2 separate regions of the Homo sapiens genome follow, and region 1 is linked to region 2. Evidence: promoter capture Hi-C in human tissues and cell types (Jung and others, 2019). All regions are on one chromosome and are shown on one strand. The core of a region is centred on a gene start or on the middle of the fragment in contact, and the rest is flanking DNA. Distances in the headings are between cores, read along the strand shown.

Evidence for each region. Contacts are between HindIII fragments. The study calls those that stand out against the background at their distance.
Region 1: a fragment that was not itself captured here is called in contact with the fragment with the promoter of RDH14 in region 2 in 1 of the 25 tissues and cell types used here (mesenchymal stem cells).

Annotation. Positions count from the first base shown.
Region 1 is chr2:19,597,590-19,604,557 of GRCh38, forward strand. LOC105373459 (a long non-coding RNA gene) reads right to left here. Exons shown (of 4, transcript XR_939780.2): 2 at 4,182-4,292. Among named protein-coding and RNA genes, the nearest start is that of LINC01808, 130 kb to the left of the region's middle. The HindIII fragment of the contact is 6,100 bases long and covers 1-5,905 here.
Region 2 is chr2:18,555,187-18,562,773 of GRCh38, forward strand. It overlaps RDH14 (retinol dehydrogenase 14), which reads right to left and starts at 5,467. Exons shown (of 2, transcript NM_020905.4): 1 at 4,994-5,467; 2 at 1-622. The coding sequence starts at 5,386. The coding sequence ends at 5. It overlaps NT5C1B-RDH14 (NT5C1B-RDH14 readthrough), which reads right to left. Exons shown (of 11, transcript NM_001199104.2): 11 at 1-622. The coding sequence ends at 598. LOC105373456 (a long non-coding RNA gene) reads left to right here and starts at 4,990. Exons shown (of 6, transcript XR_007086234.1): 1 at 4,990-5,505. RefSeq lists enhancers at 4,627-4,676, 5,487-5,536, 5,597-5,646, 5,657-5,876 and a silencer at 4,887-5,396. The HindIII fragment of the contact is 6,430 bases long and covers 847-7,276 here.

The DNA of each region.
Region 1 (6,968 bases), core at 1,606-4,105, 1.0 Mb after region 2:
AATGGGAAGGAGCTCTGAGCTCTATGGGATAAAATCTCAGGGGCTTCCCTTAAAGGAAAACCACTTATGGGTTTATACCACACAGGGGGACCAGAAGACAGACCTGAGCCCACTTGCTGAGAAAATTCAGACCTTCAGTATAACTAACCAAAGTTGGAATGAGCGATCTGTCCTACTCGGAAGCAGCTACTCATCTTGAACAAACTCTGAAGGGCCTGAGAGTTCAGGAAATATAAGAACTAAGAGACGGGACGCACCCAAGAGATCACCTTATTTATCTCCTGACAGTTAGGTTGTTCTGTCCAGTCCTCCCTCCAGTGTTTGATCTCCCTCCTTGCTAAGAGTCCCCAGTCCCCTGGAGACACATGCTGTCAGGAAGTATTTCATGATTTCTATCCTATTTTCTTTTCCTTTGAGTTTGAACACCACAGGTCTTGTTTAATGAGGCCAGGTTTTTCGTGGAAGTTTTGGGATTGAACCAAGGAAGAGAGGATCAGGAACAGTCAGAAAGCTGTGCACATTTTCAACAACTACCGACAGCAGTGAGTGCTTGGGAAGCAGTGAGATCATAGGCTGGGAAGATGGGAAATCATCAGGAATCCCGGGCTGATGAAACTTTAGAGGTCTTTGGAAAGCTCCCCTGATTATCACCTCCTCTTCTCTCTCTCCTAATTTACCTCCAGGAACTACAGACCTTTATCTCACAGTGAGAGCCAAAGCTTCAAAAGGGTGATTAGTACTGTTGCCAAAGGAGGAACAGTCAATATCAGCTCTTTTCCAAACCCAGTCCTTGATAGAAATGCTCTCTGTAAACTCAGATGAAGAGATGACATCTGTTCTGATTATTGTGATATAGCCCACTGCAGAGCACAAAGCACATAGTAGATCTTTAATAAGTATGTGTCCAGTTGAGTGGCATCAGACATCTAAAGCAGCAGGAAGCACTTCACAAATCAAGTTATAGAAAGCAACTAGCCAACATGTATGGCTGAAGCTTTTAAGGAGAACTTTGTCAGCTTCTCATTTTAATTGCCCCAAATGACCCTACTGAAAGGTGTCCTTGTTTATCATTTTGAGGAAGACACCTACAATGCAACTGCCTGCCTGGCCTGTGGATGTTGCAAAGATCAATGTGAACCCATCATCTCTAAGGCAGGGTGGGATTAGCCCAGGAAACAAACTGCGCTGCCACTAACTAACTTTAAAACCCTGTTCATTTGTGCCTTAGTTTCTCCATTGGTAAAATGGGGATAATTGTATTTAGCTTACAGAGCCATTGTGAGATTAACTGCTTAGACACATGCCTGTTTAACAGTAAGTGCTAAATAAATGTTAGCTCTCATATTTCCCCTTTCTCCTGTTCCCAAAACTGCCTCTTTCCTGTGTTCCTCATGTCACCATCCACCCAAGCACAAATCCAGAAAACCCAGTCTCATTCTATTAATAACCCCGTCCAGCTCACTCTCTGTTACCAACCCCCGGGCCCCAATCAGTCTCCAGTCTTCTAAAGTCTATGTATTAATATCTCTTGCCATCCTTTATTCACTGGCTCTGTCTTAGCTCAGGCCCCAGGCTTTTCTTGCTGGATTATGTGATATGATATTATCCTCTGGGTTCCTCCCTGTCCTCCTTCAACCCGTCTTCCACAGTGCTTCTAGAGTAATCTTTCTAAGCTAAGGATCCAATCATGTCATTCTCTTCTTAAATCCATCAGCAGTTTCCACTCAATATAACTTCTGTTTTTCCCTCAAAACTCAGTGAAACTCAATAGCCAAACTGTGGAAATAAGCTAAGTATCCACTGATGGATAAATGGATAAAGGAGATGTGGTGTGTGTGTGTGTGTGTGTGTGTGTGTGTGTGGTGTGTGTGCACAATGGGATAATATTCCAACTTAAAAAAAGAAGGAAATTCTGTCATTTGTGACCACAGGGATAAAACAAAAGATATACTAAGTGAAATAAAACACAGAAAGACAAATACTGCACTATTGCTGCAACATCTTAAAAAGTCAAACTCATAGGAACAGAGAGTTGAACAATGGTTACTGGGGGTTAAAGGGTGGGCAAAATGGGGAGATGTTGGTTAAAGGTTATAAACTTTTAGTTATAAGATGAATAAGTTCTGGATGCCTAATGTACAACATGGTGACTATAGCTAATAAGGTATTCTTTACTTAAAATTTGCTAAGAAACTAGATCTTAAGTATTCTCACCATACAGACACACACACACAAATGGTAGCTATATGAGATGAGAGACATGTTAATTAGCTTGATTGTGGAGATCATTTCACAATATGTGTGTGTGTGTGTGTGTATATATATATATATATATATATCTCAAAGTATTATGCTGTATACCCTGAATATGCAGTGTAAGACTTTTATTTGTCAATTATACCTCAATAAAGCTGAAAAAAACTTACTGAAACTATTTTCACTGCCCCCAAGCTGATTCACACACTCTGTTCTTGATAATACCCAGCACACAGCTGTATTATAGCTCTTGAGACACTATTCTCTGTCTTTCTCACTAAGTTATCAGCTCCCTAACAACAGCACCATCTTTTACTTGAATTCTCTAATGCTCATAGATGTTTGCTGGATGGACAGAATGATGGATGGATGGCAAAACATTGCTGGATGGACAGAATGACGGATGGATGGCAAAACAGAAGAGACTCCTCAAAACACTTGTCAGACCAACGAGGAAGGGATCAAAGCCAAGATTTTCCAGCAGCCAAAATAATAAAGATCATGGAGCCTATAGGAAAAAAATTGCTTTGCTAGAATCATCTCCCATATGGGGGCATGTGAACATTGAGGAAAAACTCTCAGGGTTGGTTTCAAATAGGAGACCTTGGCAAAAACGATTTCAACAAATAACACAAATGGAAGCAAAACTGGGGAAGAGACCCAAACTATTGTTATTAATTACTCTGTCACTTTAATTCATTATATTCTAGCACAAGCCAAGCTAATTAGATCTTATTTTGCAAACAAAATTTTCATGGCCTGCTACATAAAATTCTTCTCTAATAGGTAGCATCTGCTGCATTTATTTCATCCATTAATTTTGCAACCTTCTCCAAAACAAACATTAGGCTCATGTGATGTGATTCAGACAGTAGAAATGAGCTATGCAGCCAGGGGGTGCACATGCAATCTTGGTCCCCAAGTCAGCCACCCTTCCTGGATGTACCTTCCCAAAGAGTCTATCTGGATGGGTGCTGGCCAGCTAGCCCAGTCCCCTGTAGGCTGTGCCCACAGAGAAGAGAGAAGCCCAGTTATCCTCCAAGAGAGCCTGCATTCAGAACTCATCCATGTCCTGCAATCTGAGATGAATTCTGGTGTTAGGTGTGAGGGCTTTAAATACAACAAAAGCCTAGAGAGGGGAGAGGAACCTACGGGCTGTTCTAATCAGAGGAAACTTCATGGATCAGAAAAAACTGGAATAGGGCCTTGGAATATGATTGTATCAGAACAGAAAGGAGACTCTTCCAGTGTGGACCTACAGTAAAATCAAGGGACAATGCACTGTGCCTTCCTCCCATCAGAGGGCAAAGAAGTAGGTACAAATTTGCAAGGTAAATAATGTGGCAAGAACTCTCTGAGTACACTTGGCATGCCCAGCTCTGTGCTGATCAAGAGATTCAAAGAAGCAGACAGCATGGTCTGTGGCCTTGGCAAAGAGATGACTTTCATATATAAAGTAAAAATGCCAAACGGATCAAACTCCCATAAGGGCCTTACCATGGGTCTCACCCAGCCTTGTCTCCTCCCAGGTTTCCAGCAGACTCTGCTGGAAAGCACAGAAGCTTTGGCTTTGCATCTGCTCAACCCATCTCCAGCCTTGATCTTTCTCATGATGAATGTGGATGGCTGATGCCCCCTTGGGGGCCTGCCAGCCCTCGTTTCTTCTCCCAGTGACCAGTGTTTTCCTTGGTGAAAGACCTTGAGAAGGTGGATGAATGAGGCGAGCATGTGCTCTGCCTCTGTGGAACTCACATCCCAGTGTTCGCTCATGAGCTAGAAATCAGCAATGCAGCAGGCACCAGAAGGACTACTCTCCTAATCCAATCTATGCTTTGGAGCCTACTCCCACTCCATTGCATGTACTGGGAATCATTTTCTTCTATATCTGCACACACACACACGTACACACACACACACACACATACCTGGAAACCTCTCTTCATCCTTTGATCTGTTTGTCTGTCTTATCCACTTAAATGAAAACTCTATGAAAGCAGGAACAACATTGGTTGTGTTTACCATTATACAATCAGGTCCTAGAAGAGTATTGAATACATATCAATACATATCTATAAATGAATGAATGGAGACATAAGAGTATATCTTCTGGCCTGAAGGCAGAAAAGTGTGTGAAATATGAAATAACTGTCAGAAGGCCCCTGTGAATGGAGTAGAGGAAAAAGCCCCATAAAAGGCAGGACAATTTTCTCACCACCAACACTGTACCTCTGTTCACAGCTGAAGCCGGTATGGCCAATTGCCCCTTTTACTTTTTTCCAGGTCTATTGAGGTATAATTGACAAAAACTGTATATATTTAAGATGTACAACATGATGTGATATACACATATATTGTAAAATAACTGTCCTAATCAAGCTGATTAACGTATCTATCACCTCACAGAGTTACCATTTTGTGTGCGTGTGTGGTAAGAACACTTAAGATCTGCTCTTTTAAAATGCAAATCAAAGCCACAATGAGATATCATCACATACTAGTAAGAATGGCTATGATTAAAAAGTCAAAAAATAACAGATGCTGGTAAGGTTTCAGAGGAAAAGGAACATTTATACACTGCTGGTGGGAATATAAATTAGTTCAGCCATTGTGGAAAGCAGTGTGGTGATTTCTCAAAGGACTTAAAACAGAATTACCATTCAACCCAGCAATCTCATTACTGGGTATACACCAAAATGAATATAAATTATTCTACCATAGGGATGAGTGCGGTGGCTCGTGCCTGTAATCCCAGCACTTTGGGAGGCCAAAGCCGGTGGATTACCTGAGGCCAGGAGTCCAAGATAGCCTGGCCAACATGGCAAAACCCTATCTCTACTAAAAATACAAAAACATTAGCTGGGCATGGTGGCGTGTGCCTATAGTCCCAGCTACTTGGGAGGCTGAGGCAGGAGGATCAGTTGAACCCAGGAGGCAGAGGTTGCAGTGAGCCAAGACTGCACCACTGCACTCTAGCCTGGGCAACAGATTAAGACTCCGTCTCAAAAAAAAAATACATTCTACCATAAAGACACATGCATGAATATGTTCATTGCAGCACTATTCACAGTAGCAAAGACATAGAATCAACCTAAATGCCCATTAATGATAGATTGGATAAAGAAAATGTAGTACATATACACCATAGAATACTATACAGCCATAAAAAGGAATGAGATCATGTCCTTTGCAGGGATATGGATGGAGCTAGACACCATTATCTTAAGTGAACTAACACAGGACAGAGAACCAAATACCACATGTTCTCATTTATAAGTGGGAACCAAACATTGAGAACATGTGAACCCAAAGAAAGGAACAAGAAAGGCCAGGTGCAATGGCTCATGCCTGTAATCCCAGCATTTTGGGAGGCTGAGGCGGGTGGATCACAAGGTCAGGAGTTCAAGATCAGTCTGGCCAACATAGTGAAACCCCATCTCTACTAAAAATACAAAAAATTAGCCGGGTGTGGTGGCGGGCACCTGCAGTCTCAGCTAGTTGGGAGGCTGAGGCAGGAGAATGGCGTGAACCCAGGAGGCAGAGCTTGCAGTGAGCCGATATTGCACCACTGCACTCCAGCCTGGGTGACAGAGTGAGACTCCATCTCAAAAAAAATTAAAAAGAAAGGAAGGAAGGAAGGAGGGAGGGAGGGAGGGAGGGAGGGAAGGAAGGAAGGAAGGGAGGAAGGAAGGAAGGAAGGAGGGAAGGAAGGAGGGAGGGAGGGAGGAAAGGAAGGAAGGAAGGAGGGAGGGAGGGAGGGAGGGAGGGAGGGAGAGAGGGAGGGAGGGAGGGAAGGAAGGAAGGAAGGAAGGAACAAGAGACACCAGGGCCTACTTGAGGGTGGAAGGTGGGAGGAGTGAGAGGATAGAGAAACTACCTATTGGGTACTATGTTTATTACTTGTGGGATGAAATAATCTGTACAACAAACCCCTATGACAAGCAATTTACCTGTATAACAAACCTGCACATGTACCCCTGAACCTAAAATAAAAGTTTATAAAACAGATCTGTTCTTTTTGCAAATTTCAAGTAAAAAAAAATAGAGTATTATTAACTATACACAGCATGATGTACATTAGATCCCCAGAATTCATTTAGTTTAGAACTGAAAGTTTGTGCCCTTTGACCAGCATCTCATCCTGCTCCCCAGCCCCAGTAACCACCATTCTACTGTCTGCTTCTAAGAGTTTGGCTTTTTTAGGTTCCTCATATAAGTGAGATTGTGCAGTATTTGTCTTCCTGTGTTTGGCTTATTTCACTTAACATAATGTCCTCCAGGTTCATCCATATTGTTACTAAAGGCAGGATTGTTTTCTTTTTTATGGCTGAAAAATATACCATTGCATATATACCACATTTTCTTTATTCATTCATCTGTTGACAAACACTTACGTCATTTCCATATTTTGGGACTTGTTAATGCTGCAATTAAACACGGGAGTGCAGATATCTCTTTGAGATACTGATCTCATTTCCTTTGGATATACAGCCAGAAGTAAGATTGCCTAATCATAAGGTAGTTCTATTGCTAATTTTTTTAGAAACCTTCATACTGTTTTCCATAACGGTTGTAGTCTTTCCCTTTTAAAAAAGCGAAAACTTTTTTTTATTTCCAACTTTTACTTTAAGTTCAGGGATACATGTGCAGGATGTGCAGGTGTGTTACATAGTTAAATGCGTGCCATGGTGATTAGCTGCACAGATCACCCCATC
Region 2 (7,587 bases), core at 4,217-6,716:
GTTCCTATTTTAGCAGGCCAACCATCACTTCACTGATATCCCAGAGTTTTCTTGCAACAGATTCATCCATAGCTTTGGGCAACAGTTCTTCCTCTTTACAATCCCCAAAGTATCTTCCTGACACTCCTTCTACCTCAGGTGAAGAGGCCAAATAAATGGAAGTCTGGGCACCTTCTACTGGAGTTTTGAAAAAAGCCCATGACACCAAATTGAAGAGTGGTTTGACCAACAGTGGAATGTGTATGTGCCTCCCCAGATTTGTCCGTACAATACCAGGATGCAACACATTGACGGTGACATTTGTGCCTTCTAAGCGGCGGGCTAGTTCCCTGGTAAAAAGAATGTTAGCCAGTTTGCTCCGGCTATAACAAAAGCTTTTATTATAGCTTTGTTCACTGTTCAAGTCATCAAAATTGATGTCTCCGTATTTATAAAGTTTGGAAGAAACTACCACAATCCTGCTGGGAGCTGAACTTTTGAGGAGTCCAAGGAGAAGATTGGTGAGTAGAAAGTGCCCCAGATGGTTCACTCCGAACTGCATCTCAAACCCATCTTCAGTCTTCATGTAAGGGCACTGGAAGATCCCTGCGTTATTGATCAAGACATCCAGCCTAGGCTCTTCCTTTAAATGTCAAAAAGAGAATGGCAGAATTATTAAGAACACACGCCTTGTATTGCTTTTTCTGTTCATGATAATTACATTTTAATAAAAATGGGCACTTGAGACTAAAAGCATTTAATTTCAGTTGTTGGTCTATCGATCAGAGAACTACTTGAAACACTGGCAATTTTGTGTTTAATAAATGGGGAAAGGGATTCCTCCGCAGGATGTTCCTCAGATAAATACTGATGTTCATGATCTTTCATTCAACAGCTCTTTTTTCTCATTTATTAAAATGATATACAGAAAGATATTTATCTACAGTCATCTTCCAATAAAAGATGTAGAAACTAAATCTAAGACTTAATTTCTGGTTTTATGCTTTTATAACAATAACATTTACAAATATATAAACTTTAACATTGCATTAGAAAGTTGACTACGTGATCAGTACCAAGATCTTTCTCAAAACAGAAATACAGTCAATTTGAGGACAAGGCACTCCTACAATCCCATATTTCTCCCTTTAATTTCAGTTGAACTAGGAAAATATCAATTTGGGAGTTATCAGGTTAATACTGAGATCATATCAAAATTATAAGTGTACCTATGATAAAATGTTTAAAAATACTTGCAAACTACTAAAATTCTATCCCAAAATGCTTCTATGAGCTTCCAATAATTGAGAGAAAAATAGAAAAAAAAATAGATGCAGAAGCTTGATAGGAGCCAGGCTTTGTGCTTTTCGCATGTCACCACATCTAATTCCAACAACTGTATAAGCAAATGAAGCTCACAGGCTAGGTGACTTGCCCAGTATCAGAACTCCTAAGTAGCAAAATAAGATCAGATCTGAAGATGAAGTCTTTGACACCAAGGCCTATTTTCTTAATTAGTAAGCTGGCATGGCTTTCTAATTGGGATTTTCAAAACAGCTAGAGAGGCAATGAAAGCTAGACAGACCATATGCTGTAGAAAACAGGTAAGCATAGTTTATTCCCAGAGCTACTGGTTATCAACACCAAGGGCAAACTTATGGTTGCTTTATTCTGTAGTTCTCTCAGGGTAAATGGCACCATGGGGGTGGAACAACTTCAAGTCATTTCCTTAAAAGTGAAACAAGCAATAGAAAAGGTCAGAAATGCAAACTTAACACTGGAGAGAACATCATGAATAAATCGAGATTCATAAAGAATAATCAAAGATTAAGAAAAAAATAATCAGGTAATATAAAAATATCCAGCGTAAAGGGGACTCTAGGAGATCTGTACAGTCAACATTTTATACTCTGAACTTATGCTTCTGTATCTTTCCAAATTAAAGTCCTAAAATTTAGACTGTTCTCATAGGGAAGTCTTTTTATTCCTTAAATCATGTAAGATGGTCTTCTCTAGCCTTTTCTCGGTTGTTCTGTTTCTTTTGATGGACAAAGAAATGCACATGTTCCAAGTGTAAAGACACTGTGATGACCCATGATTAATATGAGGTCAACTTTCAAATTTCACTGGCCCTTCTGCCAACTATAAGTGAAAAGAAAAATGTGTTACATTTCACAACTGTTATCGAAGCCCACCTGTCAGAGGATTAACTATTTCTCATTCTGCCCTGTCTAAGCATCTTTGGGTTTTCCAATAGTCAACTTCAAAAAGAAGGCAAGAGTTCACTCATGGGGGAAAGAAAGGAGTATTCTTTTTCACAAATCCTTTGGAAGATTTTCCTGAATTAATCATTTGTTATCCAGCATTCTTTGCTGGGCTTGTGTTATTTTAAAATTTTGTCATTTACTATTTTTTTAAATTCTACGAGATAAATGAAATAAATACCAAGAATACCAACCTGTGGGAAATCTACATTTCCATTTTTTTTTCCTTCTAATTATAGTCACTTAACTTCAGAGCCAGGCAGGAACAGAAATACTTACTTAGAAGCAAGGACAACTTAATTATCTCTTTGTGTCCTCACTTTTTAATTAGTTCTGCCTCAAGTGCCAAAGAAGCAAACCCAGCCCCATCTATATTTTAAAGAGGAACAGAAAGATCCATCTTTAATGCTTCCAAAATCTCACTGATGAGTATTATTTCTTAACCTGTGTTACACATAATTAAATACTAGCAATAAACAAAAAACCAACTCTCTAGTTCTGCAACAGCTCCCGAACTGTGGCCTACAGCATTGCAGCAAACTCTCAGGGTGTTGTGGAATATTTTAAATTTTCGAGGGAAACACAGTGATATTTGCTCAATACCTCAAAACTACTAGCTCCAGGTGGTTCACAGCTTGAACATTACATTGTGCTATATTCCTTTCAATGACATTATTTCTTTGTGGAGCTGACTTTTAAGCAGCTGTTAGCAGTTGCTGTAATAAAAAACAAGAACAATGCTAAAAATCTACCTAGAACAGGAAATGAGGGTGGAAGTGTCCAATCTGATTCCAAGGTTTCAGACACTGGTGTAATGACCAACAGAGATACATTTCCCATTAGTAGTTATGGCTGTTTAAGAACAAAATAAACATATTATTTTTTTCTTTCAATTATGTTATCTTCTCAAATAGCTACTAAGTTGTTAGGACATAACTACTTATTAGGTTGTGTCAAAGGAAAATAAATCTCAGAACCCAAAATCACTAAGTCAAAGGTTAAAGTCAAGCTGGGAACTGCCTCAGACAAACCTGCCTCCCATTTTATTCCTAAATAAGATAGCTACAAAGAAAAAGAAGCTACATATCACCCTCATAATTTGCCCACATGGGCCTCAAGATCTTTACCCTAAAACACTTCTGTTGAATTTCACCCTGGCAATGTATTCATAAATTGATAGCTCATCTTCACAAGTGCCAAACAAAAGACAGAACTCTAAAGTCATCCTTCTGCTCACCTGAGATAAATGCTTATCTGATTGCTGACTCTGCCGTATTGTTTATGTGAAAATGCAGACTCACTGAGCCAGTCTAAGACATAAGTGATTATTCCTCTATCCCTCCTGCACATGTAAATTGTATTCAGTAAAAGGCTAATCAAAGACCCAAAAGAATGCAACCTTTTGTCTCCCATCTACCTATGACCTGGAAGCCCCCACTTCGAGTTGTCCCACTTTTCCAGGAGAACCAATGTATACCTTACATATGTGATTGATGTCTCATGTCTCCCTAAAATGTATAAAACCAAGCTGTGCCCCGACCACCTTGGGCACATGTCCTCAGGACCGCCTGAGGTTCTGCCACGGGTGCATCCTTAACCTTGGCAAAATAAACTTTCTAAATAAATGAACTGGGAAATATTTCTGGCCTAAGGGCATCATGAAAAAATTACTGAGAAAATTTGGGAACCTCTTCTCTAGACTCAAGAGACTCTACGTCATATAGGCACCTTTCTTGTCCCAGCTAATTTTAAATTTCACTCTTCTGAACAAATGCCCTCTGAATGCCAGTTATCCCTGCAAGAAACTCTTCTACCTCAATCTCAACGGAGAACATCCACTTATGTGGAATTACTTACCATTTGCACAAAGAAATCCTCACACCTCACTGCCAGGCAGCAGGAGGAAAGAACAAGGGTTAAAAGCAAGTGTTCTGGAGACAGACCACAAGCAAGTTTCTTAGCCTTCCTATGCCTCAGTTTCCTCGCGTTGTAAAACAGGGATGATAATAATGCCTACTCCACAGGGTTACTGTGTAGCTTCAATGACAGTTATAGGCAAGGACACTTCATTTTCATTTAAGACAAAAAGGAAAATCTGAAATGCTTGGCACAGCTCCTGGCATACAGATCTTCAATAATGCTGGGTGTTATTTTTATTCCTGTCTCTGTATGGAGCATGACCACTGGGTTCCAAAATGTATTCTACTTGGAAATCAGGCCACAGTCCCGTTAAGGATGGTGCTGAGTTTACTGGTGGCAGCGAGCTCCTTACCCCAGCAGAAAAGGGGCAGAGGCCGGGGGAAGGAGAACTTTTTTTAAAGGACTGATATGAGGTCCTTAGCTAGCAACTTCCCCCAGTGCTCAGGGGTTCTGAAGACACAGCTTGGTGCAAATTCACTTCTGACACAGGAAAAACAATTCAGAGGCCATGGATCTACTTCGGGGCGGTCCTCACGTAACGAAATGAAACGTTCAGAAACTGGTTTATTTATTTTTCTCTTGGGCCCATTTCTTTTTCGACATCCTTAGAGGACAGAAGGCAGCCCTCCCAGTTAGTTTCTCTTTCCCTCTCAACCCTGCAGCTTCCCGGCCGCCTCAAAGTGGCTTTTTGGACTCCTCTCAGCCTCAGCGGTTCCCAAGGTGACACCCTGAACCCCAGGGCGGTCCCTCGCGGCTCAGCCCCAGCCCGCAGTCCCCTCCCACACCGTGCCCAGGCCCTCCCCACCAGCCCGGCCCCCCGAGGCCCACACCTGGAGCATTTCCTGGCAGAAGGCGCGCACCGAGCGCAGCGAGGCGAGGTCCAGCTCCCGGACTATGAGCTCGCCCACCCCGCTGACGCCAGGCTCTGGGCCGCACTCCGCGGCCTGGCGGAGCTCGCGGCGGAGCTGACCCGCCGCCTCCTCGGCGCGCGCGCGGTCCCGGCAGCCCATGATCACCCGCGCTCCCAGGCGCAGTAGCTCGGCGGCCGTGGCGCGGCCCAGGCCGCTGTTCGCCCCGGTGATCAGCACAGTCTTCCCGTGCATGAGGCCGGGGTCCCCGCCTCTGCGCAGCCGCTGGACCCTGGGCCCCACGAACCGGCGGGCCGCCAGCCACAGCGCCCCGCCCAGAGCGGCCAGTACTGCCGCCGCAGTGGCCACTGCCATCGTCAGGCCCGAGGGCCCACCGGCCCCTCCACGGGAGTTCCGCAGCCGCCGCCTTACCGGAACCCAAGAGACCACCTGTACGCGGAGAACGCTGGGGCGCGGCGGGTCGGCCCCTGACGGTGCGCGTGGGGCATGCTGGGACTTGTAGTTTCCCTCTGGGGGGGTCGCCTGATTGGTTGTGAGAGTTCAGCGCCCTGGGTCCTGCGCCCTCCGTGGAAGCTCCTCCCAGCCTAATGATGGAGGCTGGGCAACCAGCACAGTGTTCAGGGTGCTGGGGTTCATACGTATTGAAATCCCAGAGTAGTGGCGGACTTCCCCATGGGAATGTCTGATGAGTACTTTGAATCACAGATCTCTGTACAGGCCCTGTTACAAATGCCACTCCTCAGGGCATTTCGTGTGTTTTCCTTTGAGGGCTCTTGGGACTTGTAAATTCAGTTCAATTCACCTTCTGAGGAATGGGCCCTGACAAGCTGAAGTCTGAGGTAGGACTGTTTTTCATAGATGAGACAAAGAATTAAGCAACATGAATCAGTTGGAAATAGAATGGTCGAGTAGTTCTCAAACTTAAATGCACATCAGAATCACCTGGAGGACTTGGGGTGGGGGTTCGGGGTGGGGGAATGAAACAAAACGAAAACAAAAAACCAGGGCCCCAGTATTAGAGTTTCTAATTCAATAGGTACAGGATGGGGCCTGATAATTTGCACTTTTAACAAGTTTCCAGGTGCTGCTGCTGCTGCAGATCTGGGAACCACACTTTGAGAACCACTGAACAAGACATTATGTCATTGGTCCCTATTAAAAAAAAGAAAGCCATCTTCAAATGATCTTCACACTGGCAGAGGTACAGTGGGAAAAGCTTGGACTTATTGTAAATATAGGCTTCTGAGCAGGCCATTTACAAATGCCTCCCTGCCCTCTCCATAGGACTATTACACACAACGATGGAAGGCAAAGTGCTTGGCTCACTGTAAAATGCCTCATTAATATCAGGGTTAGTGTCACAGGGACCCTTCTTCAAGCTACAAACTTCATAGCTGTAGACCAAGCTACTTTTAAAGACTCATTCGTTCGTCTGCCTCTCCATCCAATATGTGCCTGGCCCTGCCTGTTCCCTGTTAGAGCCACAGAGAAATGGGACACCATTTCTGCTCTCAGGGTGCTTACTTTCTGGAACTGTGATCTCCCACTTCCCACCCTCCACCCATTGCAGGTTCTCCAGACAAGGAAAAAGAACCACAGCTTGTGTCGTTTGAGACAAACTCCCCAATAATTGTGATAATCCATCTTCCACTCCCTTACATTTGGGAAGGATGTAACATGCAACTAATAGTCAGAATACAAAGAAAAAGGGATGGATTCCAGGAGGTTTCTTATGAGTAATGAGAATGGAGCTCAGAGGTGGGAAAGAGCACTCTTACTGGGGATTATACAAGGCACCAGGAACAGGAATCATGAGAGGTGGTCCTACACCACCCTATCCCCAATTTGAAGCTGCTACTCAAACTCATTGATCCCCCAGCATATGTTTCCACTTTATTGTCCTTTCTACCCATCCACATCTTGCCCATCCATCAAAATCACAGGCTACCTCAAGTCTTTCTTTCCTGACCACTTCCAGCCTATAAAGATCTCTGCTCCCTTCATGTGTGACCCTCAGGGTCATGTGTGACCCTCACTGGCACTGAAGACAAACAGCCTTCTAGTATTGGCTGTTTGAGTTTGCACATTTGACTTCCTTGACCAGATTGTTAAGGTTTCAAGTTTCCTAGAGGATAGGATTGTGTCTGCGTACCTCTTGTGGTCTTTGCATGGGAGGACACCTACAAAATGGTAGGTACTCAGTGTCACATGTCACAACTGATATATTTTGGACTGGTTTACATAAAATTAGGGAGCATCAGAAGATGTGTTTCAGCTGTGGTCTTCTCTCATCTAGAGCCAGGGGTGGAATACATATGTACAGGTGGAGTAGAGATGAAGGTGGAGGTAGAGAGAGCAGGAGAGGGTAGGAGGAAAAGAGGAGGGAGGAATCCTTAGACCTGCAGTGTAACTGCTGTGTAGTTTATGCATGGAACTTAATGAAATGATTAATCTGTACCAGATGGGTCCAAAGGCCATGAAATTAATAACTCTATTTGGAAGGGAGGAAAGAGACCTCATTATAACTTATGAAGTAAGATTTGAATTTGAATCTA